Regions from separate parts of the Homo sapiens genome. Here region 1 is linked to region 2. Evidence: promoter capture Hi-C in 16 types of primary human blood cells and fetal thymus (Javierre and others, 2016). All regions are on one chromosome and are shown on one strand. Each heading gives the region's core, a stretch centred on a gene start or on the middle of the fragment in contact. The rest is flanking DNA. Distances are from core to core; before and after follow the strand shown. Region 1 overlaps TMEM130 (transmembrane protein 130). Region 2 holds the start of TECPR1 (tectonin beta-propeller repeat containing 1).

Region 1 (4,387 bases), core at 342-2,841, 590 kb after region 2:
CACACACATACATACATACATATATATATATATAAAGGAAAACACCTACTGATGAAATTTTATATAAAGGAAAACACCTACTGATGAAATTTTTGGCACTATGAACCCCTTTAAGTCAAGTCAAGCCCTCTTCTCAGAATAATGTTTTCAAAAGCATAATATAAAATAGTGCTGGACACACTGGCTCACACCTATAATCCCAGCACTTCAGGAGGCTGAGGCAAGAGGATCACCTGAGGCCAGGAGTTCGAGACAAACCTGGGCAACACAGCAAGACCCCATCTTTACAAAAAAAATTTTTTTTAATTAGCCAGGTGTGGTGACTTATACCTGTGATCCTAGCACTTTGGGAGGCCAAGGCAGGAGGATCACTTGAGGCCAGGAGTTCAAGACCAGTCTGGGCAACACAGCAAGACCCCTATCTCTACAAAAACTTTCTTAAAAAATTAGCCACCTATAATCTCAGCACTTTGAGAGGCCAAGGCAGGAGGATTGCTTGAGGCCAAGAGTTTGAGACCAGCCTGGGCAACATAGCAAGACCCCGTCTCAACAGAAAATTTAAAAGTCAGCTGGGTGTGGCAATGGACACCTGTGGTACCAGCTACTTGGGAGGCTGAGGTGGGAGGATCGCTTGAGCCCAGGAGTTCGAGGCTGCAGTGAGCTGTGATCACACTACTGCACTCCAGCCTGGGGGACAGAGCAAGACCCTGTCTCTAAACAAATACATAAATAAAGATGTAATTTTTCCCATCCAAGTACCTCAATGCTCTCCATGGATCCCTTGGGGATTAGGGTAGCTCAGTTTAAGAGACTCTGACCCATTCCCTGCCTGATGACCCTGGAGCCTCCTCGGCCCGTTGGCCCACTACCACATGGGACCCAGCTTAGCTTGCTCCCTCAGCCCCTGCCACACTGTCTACAGCCCACCTGCTCTCCCAGCCTCCAGCCTCTGACCTTTCCTCCTCAACACAGAACAAGGCACCACTCTCAGAAGCCAGGCCAGTGGCTTTCTGCTCCAAGGATGGATAATTGCCCGATCTGATGTCCAAGAGGCCGCCATGCCAGAAGGGGCCCACACCGCAGTCCCTCTCTCCAGGATTCAGGGAGGGAGGCCCCTGCCTCCTGACACCTGGACATCACCACGTCTCACACCAGGGCTTCCGGGCCATTTGTCCTGACCTATGGGGTCTTCTGGACAGTCTGGACAGACATTGAGTTTGTTCCTTAGAGTCTTGTGTTCCCTCCCCTAATTCCAGTCATTGTGAGGTTACAACACAAGTGTGAGGAAGTAACCCTTTCTCCCTTCCTCACGCCATCCCTCTTTCCTTTCAACAATATTTAATGAACACCTGCTATGTGCTGGGTAGTATTCTGGGTGTTAGAAGTAGAAATAGTGAACAAAATAGGCAAAATCCTTTCTTTCTTCAAGTTTATATACCATGTAAGGCTCAGATTAAATAAATAAGTTAAGGCCAGCTGCAGTGGGTCATGCCTGTAATCCCAGCACTTTGGGAGGCCGAGGTAGGAGGATCCCTGGAGACCAAGGGTTCCAGACTAGCCTCAGCAACATAGCAAGACCCCATCTCTACGAAAAATTTTTGAAAATTAGCTGGGCATGGGGGTGGGCTCCTGCGGTCTCAGCTACTTGGGAGGCTGAGATGGGAGGATTGCTTGAGCCAGGGAGGCTGGGGCTGCAGTGAGCTATGATTACACCACTGCACTCCAGCCTGGGTGACAGAGTAAGACCCTGTCTCTATAAAAAAAAAAGTACAAATAAATTTTAAAATAAATAAATTAATAGTATGTTAGGCAAAGCGTGGTGGCTCATGCCTGTAATCCCAGCACTTTAGGAGGCCGAGGCGGGCAGATCACTTGAGACCAGCCTGGCCAACATGGCAAAACCCTGTCTCTACTAAAATTACAAAAAAATTAGCCAGGCCTGGTGGTGGGTGCCTGTAATTCCAGCCACTTGGGAGGCTGAGGCAGGAGAATCACTTGACTCTGAGAGGCAGAGGTTGCAGTGAGCCAAGATCGCACCACTGCACTCCAGCCTGGGCGACAGAGCAAGACTCCATCTCAAAAAAATAAATAAATAAATAAATAGTATGTTAGAAGGTGACATATGCCATGAGTATAAGGGCAGGTAGGAGAGGAGAGTGCCAAGTTGACCTCACAGATGAAGGTGATGTTTGAACAGCCGTGAAGGAGCAGAGAGGGAACCCCACACGTGTCCAGGAAACAGCATCCTGCCCGGCAAAGGGAACAACTCGGGAAAGACCCAGCCAGACAAGCAGCAGGGGCTGGGGGTGACAAGGTCACAGGCCAGGTTGGACAGGGATTTGGGAGGCCACCAGAAGGATTTGGGGTTTGCTCTGAGAAGGGAGACACTGAAGGGTTTGGGGCAGAGGAAGATGTGGTCTTGGAGCAGTTTTGTGGACAAACTTCTGGCTCAGTGAGGGGTGAGCAGGAGCTGCCAGGCATTATGAGAGCCCTGCCAGGGACCAGGGTGGTGGCAGCAGGGGAGGAGGGAGCAGCGGTCAGATTCTGGATCTCAGTTGAAGGATTTCTCACAGGATGGATATGAAATGTGAGAGACGGAGCTGCCGAAAATGACGTGGGGAAGTCTGTTTCCTGGGGCTGCCGAAACAAAGTACCACGAACTAGGTGGCTTAAAACAACAGCAACGGGACCAGGCGCGGTGGTTCACACCTGTAATCCCAGCACTTTGGGAGGCCGAGGCGGGTGGATCATGCGAGGTCAGGAGTTCAAGACCAGCCTTGCCAACATGGTGAAACCCCATCTCTACTAAAAATACAAAAATTAGCCGGGTGGGGTGGTGGGTGTCTGTAGTCTCAACTACTCAGGAGGCTGAGGCAGGAGAATCGCTTGAACCCGGGAGGCAGAGATTGTAGACAGCCGAGATCGTGCCACTGCACTCCAGCCTTGGAGCAAGACTCTGTCTCAACAAAACAAAACAAAAAACTCAGGGCTGGGTGCGGTGGCTCACGCCTGTAACCCCAACATTTTGGGAGGCCAAGGCAGGAGGATAACTTGAGCTCAGGAGTTTGAGACCAGCCTGGGCAAGATAGTGGAGCCTCATCTCTACAAAAAATAAGCAGAAAATTAGCCATGGATGGTGGCATGCACCTATAGTCCCAGCTACTCAGGAGGCTGAGGTGGGAGAATCACTTGAGCCCAGGAGGTCGAGGCTGCAGTGAGCTATGATCGTGCCACTGCACTCCAGCCTGGATGACAGAGAGACTCTGTCTAAAAGAAATAATAAGTAAATAAAAATAAATAAGGCCAGGTGTGGTGGCTCACACCTGTAATCCCAGCACTTTGGGAGGCCGAGGAGGGCAGATCACAAGGTCAGGAGATCAAGACCATCCTGGCCAAAGATGGTGAAACCCCATCTCTACTAAACATACAAAAATTAGCCGGGCATGGTGGCACGTGCTTGTAATCCCCGCTACTTGAGAGGCTGAGGCAGGAGAATTGCTTGAACTAGGGAGTCAGAGGTTGCAGTGAGCCGAGATCACGCCACCGCACTCCAGCCTGGCGACAGAGTGAGACTCCATCTCAAAATAAATTAATAAAAAGAAATAAAAGAAACGCAGAATCCCAGGCCCCACTCCAGACCTCCAAAATGAAAATTCTTGTTTACCAAGATCTCTAGCAATTCTCATGAACCTCAAAGTTTAAGAAGCCTGCTAGAGACTAGTGGTTCTCATACCTGATATGCACCAGAATCGCAGAGGGCTTGTGAAAACAGGTGGCTGCCCCCCTACCCAGGCACTGCTTCAGGTATCAGGTCGAGCCCAAGGGTCTGCATTTCCAACACGTCCCCAGGTGTGGTCCACGTTCCTCCTCTGGCTCTAGAATCCCCCTGAGGTCTCAGACAGGGATGCATGTCCAAGTCACCTGGGGACAGCTCTCCCCACCTCCAGGGACCTGAACTGGCTCCCTTCAGTTGTCTTCACCACAGAGGACAAGTGGGATGTCCTGCTGCGTCACAGCACTGCCGTTGCTGTCTGCAAGGCAAAAACGTCCATGCACAAAAGAGAGACTCTGGCCACACCGTCTATGCTTGGCTATATTCAGAGCACACAAGCTTTATTTAGCAACAATGGCAGTATTTCATGAGAATGAGCTGCACAATAGTGTAAATGCCATTTTCTGCACACAGCCTGGGAGCAGATGGTTACAGCGACAGAGCCCAGACCCCACAGTCCTCCCCTGCCCTTCCTGACAGGCTCCGGCTACTTCTGGCCTCATTATTGTCTCAGCCACAGCCCAGGTCGCTGGGCCAGAAGGGAGGGTGCAGGCTGGTTCCGCTGCTCAGGCTCTGTCATCCTGCTTCTTCCTTCTCAAGGCCACCTCGGGAGCA
Region 2 (3,927 bases), core at 561-3,060:
GTTCAAAACCAGCCTAAGCAACACAGGGAGACCCCATCTCTGTAAAAATAAAAAGTTAAAAAAAAAATTAGCCAGGTGTGGTGGCACATGCCTGTGATCCTAGCTACTTGGGAGGCTGAGGCAGGAGGATCACTTGAGCCCAGGAGTTTGAGGCTACAGTGAGCTATGATTGTGCCACTGCACTCCAGCCTGGGCAGCAGAGCGAGACCCTGTCTCAAAAAGGAAAACAAACAACAACAACAACAACAACAAAACAAAGATAGCTCAGAATTCACTGGATAAGCAAGCAGTTTAGCTAGACTCAGTCTGCAGGTTGAGCTCAATGAAAGGAGATTTTGACTTTCCTTCAAATAAATGACTAAGCACTAATTTCCTCATAGACATCATTGAATCTTCTGGGCAGTTAATGGGAGAAGACTCTGCTACAGTGAAAGGGAGGGGTGGGGGGTTGCTGTATTTACAAACTCCCTTCAGAGTAGAGACCCAGGCACCTGTCGTCACTTCCTAGCTACAGTTGACATCCGGTAACCATCCTTGGTCAGCCACACTTTCTTTCTGCCTCTGCCAAGAGGCTCCCCCTAGCTCCTCATGGGCCACTTTCTGGCTGTGAGCTGATCAGGCAACTTACACAGGGTCACTGGGTCAGAGGACTCTTGAAAGGGGGGTTGGAACATGAAGCCCCATGATTCAGGGATCCTGGGACTTGTTTGTTTTGTAGGGTTAGAGGGATGGAGGAAAATCTTCCAAATCAGCAGCCTCGAATTCACCAAGAATTTCTACAAGATGAATTTGAGTTGAACCTTCAGTCTTTCCACGAAGAAGGTCTGCTCGCCACCCTCAAAGCCATCTGCCTTTCTGTCTCAGTTTATTCACAGATCCTTTCAGAGACCAAAAAAAGCACCCAAGAGAGGCGGGGACAGAGATGTGGTAGAGGAAAAGACACAGTACAAAGAACGCTCCGCAAGCACTTACTTCCTCTGAGCCTTAGGAGTCCTACCTAAAAGGTTTCTTGCTTGTTTTTCTATTACACTGTCACTCCCATCCGGTATGCAAACAGTCGGCAATGCCTACTACAGTAGCTCGCTGGCTGCCAGGTGCAGGGGCTGTTCAAAAGCGACATCAGGGTCCTAAAAGGTGGGAAAAAGCAGCAGAACTTGCATGGTAGTTGATTCTTTCCTGAAGAATAGGGTCCGCCCAGCCCCACCGGGCAGGAGGTGTCCTGAGTCAGCCTGGCGTTCAGCCCAGTGCTGTGCACTTGGGTGACAGGTGGGGCCCCTGCACTGCCACCAGTAGCATATGTCGGAGCTCTGGGCCCTGACCATCTGCCAAAGCTAATCTTACGACAAGCAGATTTGCTCCCATCAATACCCAGGGAGAGGGATAGGCAGGCCCCTTGCTGCGTGATTCTCGAAAACAACCAGGATCCCGCGATCCGCTTCTCCTATGGCTCCAGTCCAAAGGCTGGAATGGGGGCGTCACCTGCACCAGGCAACTTCGCTAGCCTGTGGGCGTTCCAGGGCAGGGGACGGGGGCGGCACCTTCCAGGTGTGCAGGCGAGATGACAAGTGCGGTCCCTCCTTCCTCCCTCCCCGCGAGCAAACAGCCTGGGGGTGGTGGGGAAGGCGGCGTGCCCAGCCCTTCATCGCCCCATTCTTTCCCACGGCCCTGGCCGCCGCTGCAGCTGGGGCGCCACTCTGCACTCACCTGGGCCCGCGCCGGGCGGGGCGAAGTCGCGGTGGTAGGTCCTCGGCGTCCGGGAGGAGCGGACCGGCCCTCCCGGGGACCGGGCAAGAGGGTGGGCCGGAAGCGGCATCAGGCCCCGTGCCCATTGGCCAGCCTCGCCAGGACGCTGCGACCTGGGACGTGCGATTGGCTGCGGTGCGCCGCGTCGGTGCTGGCTTCGAGGTCGCGCGCCCGCCCACTTCCGGGGTCGCGCCAGGTCAGGAGTCCAGAGTCGGCTGAAGCGAGTTGCCGCGTTCTCTCTGGCGGCGCGACACCGGCCCGTGGACCGCCCGGCCGCCCTCCAGGACCCGGTCTGCAGGAGCGGAGAGGGCGGTGTGGACACCGCCTGCAGGCGAGGAGAAGGGGTGGCGGAGAGGGTACCTGGGTGCGTGGCTGTGCGGCGTCAGGAGGAGCAGGGTGTGGGCGCCCGGCCTGGGGCGTGGAGAGGACGCAGGGAACAGGTGTCTTCCTGGTATCCATCGAACTGAAACGTAGCCCTTGAGCACACACTACACTTAAAGCTTTACTCTTTCGAGGAGGAGTCCTGGAAGCATATGTGATTTTGTGACTATAGCATGGTGTGGTGTCAGTAACAGGCCCTGGATTGCTCAAACTCTATTGTCAGTGACAAAACCCAGTGTAAGCTGGCCTAATATATTAATAGTAATATGCGAGTCCTCCCGGGGTGGCGGGCACTGACGTAAGTGCTTTACTTGGGTCTTCTCATTTCATCCTCCCAGCAACCCAAAGAGCTGGCGGCGTCATTCCCATTTTACAAATGCGAACACGGGCTCAGAGATGGAGCGACTCACGTTGTAAGCGATGGAACTGGGATTTGAAAACACTGTATCCCGCCTGGCAGAAAACTGGCAAGGTTAGGATGGAGAAAGGAGAAAAAAGAAAGATGTCGGCCAGGTGCGGCGGTTCATACCTGTAATCCCAGCACTTTGGGAGGCCAAGGCGGGCGGATCACTTGAGGTCAGGGGTTTGAGACCAGCCTGGCCAAGATGGTGAAACCCCGTCTCTAGTAAAAATGCAAAATTAGCCAGGGGTGGTGGCGCATGCCTGTAATCTCAGCTACTCGGGAGACTGAGGCAGGAAAATCGCTTGAACTGGGGAGGTGGAGGTTGCAGTGAGCTGAGATCGTGCCACTGTGCCACCGCACTACAGCCTGGGCGACAAGAGCAAAACTCCTTCTCAAAAAAGAAAAAAAAGGGCATCTGATGGAAGGCTAGATACTACCCGACATTGAGCTAAACCAATGTCACCTGGTTGGACCTAGGGACCTATTCCTGCTCCCCCTCTAGTTCTGTCTCATTTCTGGGGTTGCACACAGGCTTTTCCTGGGCCTTCATGTTTGGGGAAGCCCCACACAGGCCAGCTCCAGTGGAAGAAAACGCCCCCAGAAGCCTCTTGTTCACCCCGGATGGCTCTGTGGAGTCCTGTGTCTGACCCTGACTTTAGCTTGGGCCTGAGGGACTGGCATTTGTGGACTTGGTCTGGAGATGTGGGCAGAGCCCCCCTCAAGCATAAGGGCTCAGCCAGGCACAGGGGGTGGCTCCTCAGAGGAAGATCAGGGTGCTATTAGCAGAAGGACGATGAGTGGGCCGGGCGCAGTGGTTCACGCCTGTAATCCCAGCCCTTTGGGAGGCCGAGGCGGGTGGATCATGAGGTCAGGAGATGAGACCATCCTGGCTAACATGGTGAAACACCGTCTCTACTAAAAACACAAAAAATTAGCCGGGCGTGGTGGCGGGCGCCTGTAGTCCCAGCTACTCGGGAGGCTGAGGCAGGATAATGAGGTGAACCCAGGAGGCGGAGCTTGCAGTGAGCTGAGATTGTGCCACTACACTCCAGCCTGGGCAACAGAGCAAAACTCTGTCTCAAAAAAAAAAAAAAAAAAAAAAAAGGAGGATGAGTGGTCGCTAGACTGCTGGAGAAACAGTCTAGAGGTAGGGAGCCCTGGGTTCTGTCCTGCCTGTGACACTCTGTAGCCATTTATCTCCTCTTTAGCTTTAGTTTCCACATTAAAAGAGGCATTGAAAAAAAATGAAAAAGAGGCATTGAATTAGGAGCTTTCTGTGGCCCCTTGCAGTTTTCATGTGTGGTGACAAAGTTCAATATAGTTTTCCTGAATTCAGGGGCTTGGGGACCCATGTCCCCCTATCCCGAGTTCTTTTTTTTTTTTTTTTTTTTTGAGAGGGA

Evidence for each region. The method cuts DNA at HindIII sites, captures the fragments that hold promoters and counts their contacts. A CHiCAGO score of 5 or more calls a contact.
Region 1: a contact is called between a fragment that was not itself captured here and the fragment with the promoter of TECPR1 in region 2, in 1 of 17 cell types (megakaryocytes). The highest score is 5.7, in megakaryocytes.

What each region holds. Positions count from the first base shown.
Region 1 is chr7:98,842,408-98,846,794 of GRCh38, forward strand. TMEM130 (transmembrane protein 130) reads right to left here. Exons shown (of 8, transcript NM_152913.3): 8 at 4,083-4,387. Among named protein-coding and RNA genes, the nearest start is that of TMEM130, 25 kb to the right of the region's middle. The HindIII fragment of the contact is 5,036 bases long and covers 1-4,109 here.
Region 2 is chr7:98,250,422-98,254,348 of GRCh38, forward strand. TECPR1 (tectonin beta-propeller repeat containing 1) reads right to left here and starts at 1,811. Exons shown (of 26, transcript NM_015395.3): 1 at 1,705-1,811; 2 at 973-1,127. It overlaps LOC124901706 (a long non-coding RNA gene), which reads left to right and starts at 1,938. Exons shown (of 2, transcript XR_007060448.1): 1 at 1,938-2,107; 2 at 2,463-3,927. RefSeq lists an enhancer at 1,458-2,201 and silencers at 1,518-1,907, 1,998-2,097. The HindIII fragment of the contact is 5,193 bases long and covers 1-2,241 here.